Linked DNA regions of Homo sapiens: regions 1, 3 and 4 are each linked to region 2. Evidence: promoter capture Hi-C in human tissues and cell types (Jung and others, 2019). All regions are on one chromosome and are shown on one strand. The core of a region is centred on a gene start or on the middle of the fragment in contact, and the rest is flanking DNA. Distances in the headings are between cores, read along the strand shown. Region 1 overlaps SGTA (small glutamine rich tetratricopeptide repeat co-chaperone alpha). Region 2 holds the start of ZNF556 (zinc finger protein 556). Region 3 overlaps THOP1 (thimet oligopeptidase 1). Region 4 overlaps ZNF77 (zinc finger protein 77).

Region 1 (2,700 bases), core at 29-2,528, 110 kb before region 2:
GTCTACAGTATGGTGGTACTTTGTGTATGAGGTTACGGTGGTAAAAAATCCACCTCAACTATTAAAAAAAGAAAAGGAAAAATAAATAAAAGCTTATTTAAAAAAAAAAGGGAAGACTGGAAGAAAAGGCGGCCAAAATATTAATGTTGGTGGCTCTGGGTGAGAAGATTAAGGTTGGGCTGAATGCACGGCTCACACTTTGGGAGGCCGAGGCGGGAGGATCGCTTGAGCCCAGGAGGTTGAGGCTGCAGTGAGACGTGACTGCACCACTGCCCTCCAGCCGGGGGGACAGAGCAGGACGGTCTCAAAAAAAAAAAAAAAAGATTAAGATTGTTCTTGCTGCTTTTTAACATTTTTGTATTTTAAATTTGTCTACAGTAATTATGGTTTAAAAATGAAAGAGAGTGTATATGAGGAGGGGACAACGACAAAATGAAGAGGCCACATGGGAGCAGAATGGAAACACCTCTGGGGAGGCCCGGAGCCTCCCGCCCCCAGGGAGCCGGCGTCTGCTGGAGACAGACAGGACTGAACTCAGGGGAGCCTCCCACCCCTGGGAAGCCGGTGTCTGCTGGAGACGGACAGGACTGAACTCAGGGGCCCCTGGGGAAGGAAACCAAGCCAGCCACGGGCCCCTGGAACCCATGGGGGACACTGAGTGTATTTTTAAACAACTGTAAGTGCAACACCTGCTCACAGTGAGAAAAGGACAAAAAATCCCTCACAAAATGCAGGCAGAACGCTCGGGCGCAGTCAAAGGCAGGTACCCGGCTTGTCCTTTCCACCACTCGATGACCTCGCCCCCACCCCCGAGGTGGCAGCCCCGACACTGCAGAAACAAAGAGCTTCTGCAGGCGGCCTTAGGCAGGGGGGACCCCAGACACCAGCCCTTCCAGGGAGCTGTGGCTCTCCCCTAATCTCCACCCAGCGCCGATCCACAGATGGGAAAGGAGTGGGGAGCAGGACTTGGTGGCCACCTGGAAAGGGGCCCAATGCCCAGAGATGCCCCCACCTGCCTGGGCGGTTCAGGGTGATCTTCTGAGCTGGATGCACCCAGGACTCGCTGTCCAGTGTCCAGACAGGCTCCACAGCCCCCGGGCGTCACTCCTGCTGGCTGCCCTCACTGCCAGGCACTCACGTGGTGTCACTCCTGCTGGCCACCCCCCAGCCCCCGGCCCCATGCACTCACGCAGCGTCACTCCTGCTGGTCGTCGTTGCTGGCGCTGGGCGTCCGACTCCGGATCTGGCTCCTGAGCTGCTCTATCAACTCTGGGTTCTGCTGCTGCATCTGCTGGGCAAACTGCTGGCCCCTGCGGGGAAGGGCACATGGGGCTCAGCCAGGGCCAGGAGGCTGCCTGCTGCCTCCGTCCATCCCCAGCTGACCCCTCGGGCCCTCCACCCCAAAGACAGGCCTGACCCCTCGCTGGAGGACGCTGGGCCCTTCGGAGCAGGGGACGCAGCACTTTCGCTCTCCTCCTTCCCTTCCGCCTGCGAGCCCTGCCCGCCGCCCACGTCCTCCGTCCTCTTGGAAGCAGTTCCACTCACGCCTGGATGAGGCTGGCCAGGTCGTTCTGCGAGGGGCTGGTGCCGGGAGTTCCCAAGGGGTTGTTGCCACCCGAAATCATGCCGGACATGCTGCAGGAGAGAGCGCGTGACTCGCAGCCGGGACAGCCTGACCGCCACCCCCACTGCAGGCCCTCGCAGTGGCCCGGGAGAGAATCCCTCTCAGCCCTTCACCTTCCCCTGCAGGAGAGGATTCTCTCTCACCACCTGGTGGGCCTCCAGGGCCCAAACCCACCCTGTGACTTTCACCTGCTTTCCCAGAACACCCCTCTTTCTTTGGCCTAAAGAGCGTAGTTCTCAGCCAGGGGGTGATCCTGCCCCCAGAGGACCCCTGCAATGGCAGCGGACATTTGCAACAGCCATGATTGGGTTACGCCAAGACAGGGGCAGGGGGTGCTCCTGGCATGGAGTGGATGGAGGCTAGAGACAGTGCTCAGCACCCTGCAGTGCCCAGGACGGCCCTGCTCCAGAAACTGGTCCAGCTCAAATGGCCACGGTGCTGTGGCTGGGAAACCATGCTTTAAGATTTGACCGTGGGCCAGCCGCGGTGGCTCACACCTGTCATCCCTGCACTTTGGGAGGCTGAGGCGGGTGGATCACCTGAGGTCAGGAGTTCAAGACCAGCCTGGCCAACATGGTGAAACCCCATCTCTACTAAAAATGCAAAAATCAGCCGGGCATGGTGGTGGATGCCTGTAATTCCAGCTACTTGGGAAGACCCACTTGATCCCGGGAGGCAGAGGTTGCAGTGAGCCAAGATTCTGCCACTGCACTCCAGCCTGGGTGACAGAGCAAGATTCTGTCTCAAAAAAAAAAAAAGGAGAAAGAAAAAAAGATTTCACCATGAAAACAGGTGAGCAGCTCCCCAGTGCGCACAGCGCTTACTGGGGAGTGACCCTATGAGCCAGCGAGTGCACTCAGAAGTTTATATCCAAGAGAAACGAAAACAGGATTCACACAGACGATTGCACACCCGTGCTCAAGCAGCACCGTTCACAACAGACAAAAGGTAGAAACAGCCCAAATGTCCATGGATAGATGTGTGGATCAGCACAGCGTGGTCCCTCCACACTGGAATATTACTCAGCCATGAAAAGGAGCGAGGCCCTGACCCAGGCCCCAGCACACATGCACCTT
Region 2 (2,700 bases), core at 14-2,513:
AGGGATTATGCCTCCTTGATTATATGTCATTTGCCTGTAGACTATTCATCTGCCTGCACATTGAGCGCTCAGCTGTGGTGTTTGAGTTTTCATAGGTACACAGATATTCGTGACCTTGATTTTTACTTGAGAAACTGTGAGGCAAAATATCCCCAGAGTGCTTTAACCTCAAAATATTGACCTAGGATACAGTTGTTGCCACAGTTTTTTTTAAGTGTGTTTTCGGTTTTTTTGTTTTGTTTTGTTTTCTATGTTTTTGTTGTTGTTGTTGTTTTTGAGACGGAGTTTCCCTCTTGTTGCCTAGGCTGAGTGCAGTGGGGCAATCTCAGCTCACTGCAACCTCCGCCTTCCAGGTTCAAGCGATTCTTCCCCCTTAGCCTCCGAGTAGCTGGGATTACAGGCACCCACCACCACACCCGGCTAATTTTTTGTATTTTTAGTAAAGACAGGGTTTCATCATGTTGGCCACACTGGTCTCAAACTCCTGACCTCAGGTGATCCACCCACCTTGGCCTCCCAAAGTGCTGTGATTACAGGCATGAGCCACCGCGCCCGGCTGGCTAGACCATTGCTAATGGCTCAAGAGTTCAGTTCTAGCAATTGTGCTGACCCTAGTTAGGGAATGGTAAAGCTTTCGTTGGTCACTCACTTGACCCCATGGGCCTCCCCAGGTGTCTACTGGTCAGGAGAGAGAGGGGACCTCCTCCAGTGTCATGGAATCTGACAACAGACTGAGGACAGAAGAAGCTGCTTTTTTCTACGGTGGATACCCCAAGGGCCCAGGTTTCCCTCTAAGTCAGTACCACTTTCATTTCAGGAAGGAGACCACCGTGGATGGGGGCTGCTGCCTGCAGGACCCGAGACCTGAAAACTGACCAATCAGGCAGCTGGGGTGGGGCCTAGAGAACTGACCAATCAGGGGAGTTGAGGTGGAGCATCCGGATGAGAACTGTCAATCAGGGGGGTTGGGGCAGAGCCTGGAGACCTGTCAAATCAAAGGAGCTGAGGCAGGGCGTGGAAACATGACCAATTAGGAAAGCTGGGGTGGGGCCTGAAGAACTGCCCAATCAGGGGAGCTCAGGGGATAGCAAGCTGACCAACCAGAAGAGGAGGGGCAGAGTCTAAAGAACTGTCCAATCAGGGGAGTTGGGATGTGACTGGTGAACTCTCCAATCAGAGATGAGCAGAGAAGAGAACCATCCAATCACAGCCCCAGGGGCGGGGCGTTGCTGTCCTCCCTGCAGAGCACACCCGGCCTGCCCTGAGTGACCACAGGTGTCCCCGTCGTGCTCACCTGCACCGGCTGCGAGGAGCAGGGAGCTCCTCAAAGAGCTCAGGAACGGACAGGACATGGTGAGTGCAGGGCAGGAGCCGAGCCGGAGCCGGAGCCCTGGGAGGGGAGGGTTGGAAGCGGCCAGAACACGCTGAAACTCCCGGGGGAGCCGCCCGGAACCCCCATGCAGCCTCTGTCCCTGTGTCACCCCCGGGTCCTGCGGGGAGTTTCCTCCCCTGCCCCAGTCTTCATTCCCTGGAAAGTCGTAGTTGTCAGGACGCTGGGATGGAGGGGAAAAAAAGGCAGAAATGACTCCTGCCCTGTGGGGTCTCGCGAAGTTAATTGGAAGAAAAACTAACCCAAAGTACAAAAAACAAAACAAAAAAAAAAAAAACCTCACCCCAGCGAGGCGGTGCAACAGCCCCAAAGCAGAATGCGCTTTGGATGCAGACTTTGGGCCCAGGCCCACGTCCCTGGGAGGGGCGAGGGGTGGACAGGTGGTGCGGGCGCTCCACGTGGCGGCACGGGCTGGCCTGACCCCAAAGGCCCGCAGGCCGGACTCCAGCCCAGCCGCCCCTGCCTGGGCCTCTCTCCTTCTAAAGATTGATTTGGTTACTTGAGCCTCAGATTTTTTCAGTCAATGGAACATACAGTAAATAATAGAGTTTGAAAGATAAAATATTTCCAAGGAGGTGAATTTCAGAAAAAAATAAAGTTCTCGTCTTACATTCCATTTGTTAAAAATTCTAGCGTGCCTTTTTTTTTTCTTTTTATTTTCTGTTCCTTTTTTGCCCGTGTGGTTAAGTTTCTCACATCTGTTGTTTTATTTTCGGTGATGACAAATGGGATTCCAGGGCTTAGCCCTTGACGGGGCTCCCGGGAAAAAGAATCGCAGAGAAAGAGAGAAAATCTCTCTTTTATTATGACACGCCCCGAAATGAATACATTCCTACAAGAAAAAAATGTTTGGTATATAATTTGGTGAATTACAAAAACTCGCTAAAATATCAGTTATTCTCCTTTTCCAGGATGGAGAATTTGTGATAGATGATAATTCTGTTCTTTTATTTTTTGTTTTTATTTTTTGAAACGGAGTCTTGCTCTGTCACCCAGGCTGGAGTGCAGTGGCGCGATCTCGGCTCACTGCAACCTCCGCCTCCTGAGTTCAAGCGATTGATTCTCCTGCCTCAGCCTCCCCAGCAGCTGGGACTACAGGTGTGTGCCACCACGTCCAGCTAATTTTTGTATTTTTAGTGGAGACAGGGTTTTACCATGTTGGCCAAGCTGGTCTCCAACTCCTGACCTCAGGTGATCCACCCGCCTTGGCCTCCCAGAATGCTTGGATTACAGGCAGCATGTGCCACCATGACTAGCTAATTTTTTTTTTTTTTTCAGATGGAGCCTCGCTCTGTCACCCAGGCTGGAGT
Region 3 (2,700 bases), core at 191-2,690, 72 kb before region 2:
GCTACTCGGGAGGCCGAGGCAGGAGAATCGCTTGAACCCAGGAGTTGAAGGTTGCAGTGAGCCGAGACTGCACCACTGCACTCCAGCTTGGGCAACAGAGTGACACTTCGTCTCAAAAAAAAACAAATGGCATCACACACTGTGTGACTTTTGTGTCTGGCTTCTTTCTCTGCATGTGACATCATCGGGCTGCATCCACACCGCAGCCTGTTCCAGAGCCTCATTCCTTTTCATGGCTGAGTCGTGTTCCACTGGGCAGAGGCCACATCTTGTCAGTCCATTCACTCGTGGATGGACCTTTTGTCAATTGTGAATCGCGCTGCTGTGAGTGCACGTGTGCAGATTCCTGTGTGGATGTGTGTTCATGTCTCCTGGCTGGATCCTGGCACTGGAGTCTTGGGGGTCATGGGATGACTCCATTTTAAAGCTTTTTTTTTTTTCTTTTTTTTTCTTTTTTGAGATGGAGCCTCACTCTGTCGCCCAGGCTGGAGTGCAGTGGTACCATTTCAACTCGCTGCAACCTCCACCTCCCGGGTTCAAGCTATTCCCCTACCTCAGCCTCCCAAGTAGTTGGAATTACAGGCACGCGCCACCACGCCTGGCTAATTTTTGTATTTTTAGTAGAGATGGGGTTTCACCTTGTTGGCCAGGCTGGTCTCGGACTCCTGACCTCAAGTGATCTGCCTGCCTCGGCCTCCCAAAGGGCTGGGATTACAGGCTTGGCCACCACACCTGGCCTAAAGCTTATGCTTTTCTAGCCACTGACACTTCCTCTACTCAACCTAAAGCACAGATGTGCTCAGGAAATTGTAAGTAGTTTATGCATTTAAATGTGACCATCGGCAGCTGCAGCTCTCTCTGGAATGGAATTCCGTCAGCCTCTGTTTCGTCGTACCCAGCTCTGTTGGGTCCTCCTTGGCTTGGAGGGCTTTGAGTTGAATCCTTATTTTTCTTCGGTCTGTAAGATCTCCAAGGACACAGGCAACAGCACCTCCTTTCTCCATCCCAGGGCCCAGCCTGGAGGGGACGGTGGCGTGTGCCTCTAGTCCCAGCTACTTGGGAGGCTGAGGCAGGAGAGAGTTCACGGGGGGATTCAGCAGACAGGCCTGGGAGAGGGGTCCGGGCAACACCTGCCAGTTGTACTGGGGCCTGTTCTCACACCTGTCTCCCTGGTCTCCCCTGTTTTAGTTCAGAGGAATATCCTTGACTTCCCCCAGCATGTTTCCCCCTCCAAGGACATCCGGACAGCCAGCACAGAGGCCGACAAGAAGCTCTCTGAGTTCGACGTGGAGATGAGCATGAGGGAGGACGTGTACCAGAGGATCGTGTGGCTCCAGGTGAGGGGGCCCTGCGGGGAGTGCAAATAGCCTCCCAAGTAACTAGGATTACAGGCGCCCGCCACCACACCCGGCTAATTTTTGTATTTTTAGTAGAGACGGGGTTTCAACGTGTTGGTCAGGCTAGTCTCGAACTCCTGACCTCAAGTGATCCGCCCACCTCGGCCTCCCACAGTGCTGGGATGACAGGTGTGAGCCACTGTGCCCGGCCCATTTTTTGTATTTTTAGTAGGCACAGGGTTTTGCCATGTTGGTCAGGCTGTTCTCAAACTCCTGACCTCAGGTGATCCGCCCGCCTTGGCCTCCCAAAGTGCTGGGATCACAGGCCTGAGCCACCACGCCCGGCCACACATGTGCACTTTCATTTCCTTTCCTGGCCATCCTAGTGTGACCCAAACACCCCATCCCCACATGGCGTGAGCTGGCAGGGCCTGGCGGCATGGCTGCGTGGGCTCCTGCTCCCCCGGATGCTCCTCGCAGTATGCAGTGGGGCCTTTGCTGTTGATGTCACATGATCAGGAGAGACCCAGAGACCCTCCTGCTGCTGTTCATCCTCTTAGGCGAGGACCCCTGGGAATGTGCTGATGTGTCCCACAGTCTCAGGATCATGCAGCCCTAGTGCTTTGGTAAATCCAGATCAGGGTGACCCATGATAGCCGTGGATTGTTATTTCTTTTTATTTAAATACAGACAGGGTCTCACAACGTTGCCCACGCTTGTCTCGAACTCCTGGGCCCACGCAATCCTCCCACCTCCACTTTCCAGAGTTTCTGTTGAGACAATGAGAGGTTCCCATGCAGGTGCAGGAAAGAATCGAATGCCTTTGCCAACTTTGCCCAGGTCCCCAGTGATGACGTTTTGCAAAACTATGGTGTCATCTACACCCCGATACCGACCTGGAGACCACCAGCAATCTAATTCCCATTCAGCCATCGCACTGGTGAAGGAGCTCTGGACTGATGTCAGTGTGGGGCTCTTCCAAACAAAGCGAACGTTTGCACAGGTTTTATGTAGAGACAGGTCGTCATTTCTCTGAGATAAATGCCCAGGAGTGCAGTTGCCAAGTCACACGGGGGCCGGATGATCAGGTTTTTAAGAAACTGCCAAACTGCTCTTTGGAGCGGCTGCACTGGCCCACGTCCTACATGCTTTGATGTTTTTATTCCAGGAGAAAGTTCAGAAGGACTCACTGAGGCCCGAGGCTGCGCGGTACCTGGAGCGGCTAATCAAGCTGGGCCGGAGAAATGGGCTTCACCTCCCCAGAGAGACTCAGGAAGTGAGTGCTGGGTGTAGGGAGTGCTGGGCGTGGGCAATGGTCGATCCCGGGGAGTGCTGGGCACAGGGAGTGCTCAGTCCCAGGGAG
Region 4 (2,700 bases), core at 156-2,655, 73 kb after region 2:
GGTATCTTAGGCCGGGCGCGGTGGCTCACGCCTGTAATCCCAGCACTTTGGGAGGCCAAGGCGGGCGGATCACGAGGTCAGGAGATCGAGACCATCCTGGCTAACACGGTGAAACCCCATCTCTACTAAAGCTACAAAAAATTAGCCAGGCGTGGTGGTGGGCACCTGTAGTCCCAGCTATTCAGGAGGCTGAGGCAGGAGAATGGCATGAACCCGGGAGGCGGAGCTTGCAGTGAGCCGAGATCGTGCCACTGCACTCCAGCTTGGGCGAGAGAGCAAGACTCCGTCTCAAAAAAATAAAAAAAAAAAAAAAGAAAACCAAGGTCTCTTTGCTCTCCAGGACGCAGTGAGGGAATGATGCCACCCTTACCCAAGGAGGCAGTGAGGGAATGACGCCATCCTTACCCAAGGAGGCAGTGAGGGAATGACGCCACCCTTACCCAAGGAGGCAGTGAGGGAATGACGCCACCCTTACCCAAGGAGGCAGTGAGGGAATGACGCCACCCTTACCCAAGGAGGCAGTGAGGGAATGACGCCACCCTTACCCAAGGAGGCAGTGAGGGAATGACGCCACCCTTACCCAAGGAGGCAGTGAGGGAATGACACCACCCTTACCCAAGGAGGCAAGGTTCCTGCAGGTCTCCAGCATCACATCTCTGTAGAGGCTCCTCTGAGCATGATCCAGCAATGCCCACTCTTCTGGGGTGAAGTTCACAGCCACTTCCTCAAAGATCACGCAGTCCTAAAACATTCCACACATCCCACTTCAGCAAAGGCACCGCCTCCCCCATGTGCGCAGGAAGAGGGGTGAGGCTGACAGCCTGGGGAACTGAGCCACACAGAGCTTATGTCCTTGTGAGAGGTGACCAACAGTATGAAAAAGTGCAGTACACTCAATGCCGTGAGTACCTTCCCAACAGGGAGCAAAGCGCAATGACGGCCTCTGCCAGAGACTTACAAAGAATTACTGAGAAACGGCAGGTATGAGGGTGGGGAAACACTGAAAAATCTGAAAACATCATTAAGCTAAGGCTGGTGGCTCATGCCTGCAATCCCAGTACTTTGAGAGGCTCAGGTGCGAGGATTGCTTAGGGCCAGGAGTTGGCGACCAGCCTGGGCTGCATAGTGAGATCCCGTCTCTACAAAAAAAATAAAATACAATAAATTAACCAGCCATGGTGGTACACACCTGTAGTCCCGGCTACTTAGGAGGGTGAGGAGGGACAATCGCTTGAGCTCGGGGGTTCAAGGCTGCAGTGAACTATGACTGTGCCACTGCACTCCTGTCTGGGCCACAGAGTGAGACCCAATCTCAAAAAAATAAAATAAATCAATCATTCAGGTAACATGGAAATTGACATGACTTGCTCAAATTTTATTATTTCTTATTCAGCTATAATATCAGCACTTTGGGAGGCCAAGGTGAGAAGATCGCTTGAGGCCAGGAGTTCAAGACGAGCCTGGGTGACAGAGCAAAGACCCTGTCTCTTAAAAAAAAAAATTAAATTAAATTAAATTTTAAAAATACAACTATGAAGAAAAGCAAGGAGATTATTTCCTTATAATTTAGGATATTGGCCAGGTGTGGTGGTTCACGCCTGTAGTTCCAACACTTTGGGAGGCCAAGACAGGCAGATCACTTGAGTTCAGGAGTTCGAGATCACCCTGGACAACACAGTGAAACCCTGTCTCTACCAAAAAAAAAAAGGCTAAAAGAATTTAGGATAGGCCGGGCGTGGTGGCTCACGCCTATAATCCTAGCATTTTGGGAGGCTAAGGTGGGCGGATCACAAGGTTAAGAGATCAAGACCATCCTGGCCAACATGGTGAAACCCCATCTCTACTAAAAATACAAAAATTAGCTGGGCGTGGTGGCACACGCCTGTAGTCTCAGCTACTCAGGAGGCTGAGGCAGGAGAATCACTTGAACCCAGGAGGCAGAGGTTGCAGTGAGCCGAGATGGCGCCATTGCACTCCAGTCTAGCAACAGAGTGAGTCTCCATCACAAAAAAGAAAAAAAAAAAAAAAAAAAGAATGTAGAATACTGGCCTGATCTGGAGGGAGAAGCCTACCATTACACATCATTTCAAATTGGATGCCAAGGCTTCTTCGAAGACATGGCCTGGCTGTCGTTACACACTGTTCACTTGAGGACGTTTCCACTGACTCTGTAATTGTCTTACAAAAGTTCTACATGTGTTCAATTTTATAATAAAATGCTATCAGCAGCTGGGCTTGGTGGCTCAGGCCTATACTCCCAGCACTTTGGGAGACTGAGGTGGGAGGACTGTTTGAGCCCAGAAGCTTGGGACCAGCCTGAGCAATATGGTGAAACCCTGTCTCTACAAAAAATACAAAAATTAGCCAGGCATGGTGGGGCACACCTGGAGTCCCAGCTACTCAGGAGGCTGAGGTGGGAGGATCATTTGAGCCCAGGAGGTTGAGGCTGTAGTGAGCCACGATGTCACCACTGCACTCCAGCGTGGGTGACAGAGAGACGCCCTACCTCAAAAAAAAAAAAAAAAAAAAAGGCTGGGTGAGGTGGCTCACACCTGTAATCTCAGCACTTTGGGAGGCCAAGGCGGGAGGATCACTTGAGGTCAGGAGTTCATGAGCAGCCTGGCCAACATGGTGAAACCGCACCGCTACTAAAAATACAAAAATTAGCCAGGTGTGGTGGTGCATGCCTGTAATCCCAGC

The links. Contacts are between HindIII fragments. The study calls those that stand out against the background at their distance.
Region 1: a fragment that was not itself captured here is called in contact with the fragment with the promoter of ZNF556 in region 2 in 11 of the 25 tissues and cell types used here (adrenal gland, bladder, dorsolateral prefrontal cortex and 8 more).
Region 3: a fragment that was not itself captured here is called in contact with the fragment with the promoter of ZNF556 in region 2 in 2 of the 25 tissues and cell types used here (dorsolateral prefrontal cortex and mesenchymal stem cells).
Region 4: a contact is called between a fragment that was not itself captured here and the fragment with the promoter of ZNF556 in region 2, in 2 of the 25 tissues and cell types used here (adrenal gland and pancreas).

Annotation. Positions count from the first base shown.
Region 1 is chr19:2,756,148-2,758,847 of GRCh38, forward strand. It overlaps SGTA (small glutamine rich tetratricopeptide repeat co-chaperone alpha), which reads right to left. Exons shown (of 12, transcript NM_003021.4): 10 at 1,546-1,635; 11 at 1,190-1,310. The coding sequence ends at 1,196. Among named protein-coding and RNA genes, the nearest start is that of SLC39A3, 17 kb to the left of the region's middle. The HindIII fragment of the contact is 7,304 bases long and covers 1-2,700 here.
Region 2 is chr19:2,866,072-2,868,771 of GRCh38, forward strand. ZNF556 (zinc finger protein 556) reads left to right here and starts at 1,264. Exons shown (of 4, transcript NM_024967.3): 1 at 1,264-1,353. The coding sequence starts at 1,351. The HindIII fragment of the contact is 10,595 bases long and covers 1-2,700 here.
Region 3 is chr19:2,793,576-2,796,275 of GRCh38, forward strand. It overlaps THOP1 (thimet oligopeptidase 1), which reads left to right. Exons shown (of 13, transcript NM_003249.5): 3 at 1,189-1,337; 4 at 2,506-2,613. Among named protein-coding and RNA genes, the nearest start is that of THOP1, 9.4 kb to the left of the region's middle. RefSeq lists an enhancer at 2,449-2,700. The HindIII fragment of the contact is 3,628 bases long and covers 1-2,700 here.
Region 4 is chr19:2,938,666-2,941,365 of GRCh38, forward strand. ZNF77 (zinc finger protein 77) reads right to left here. Exons shown (of 4, transcript NM_021217.3): 2 at 616-742. Among named protein-coding and RNA genes, the nearest start is that of ZNF77, 5.0 kb to the right of the region's middle. The HindIII fragment of the contact is 4,202 bases long and covers 1-2,700 here.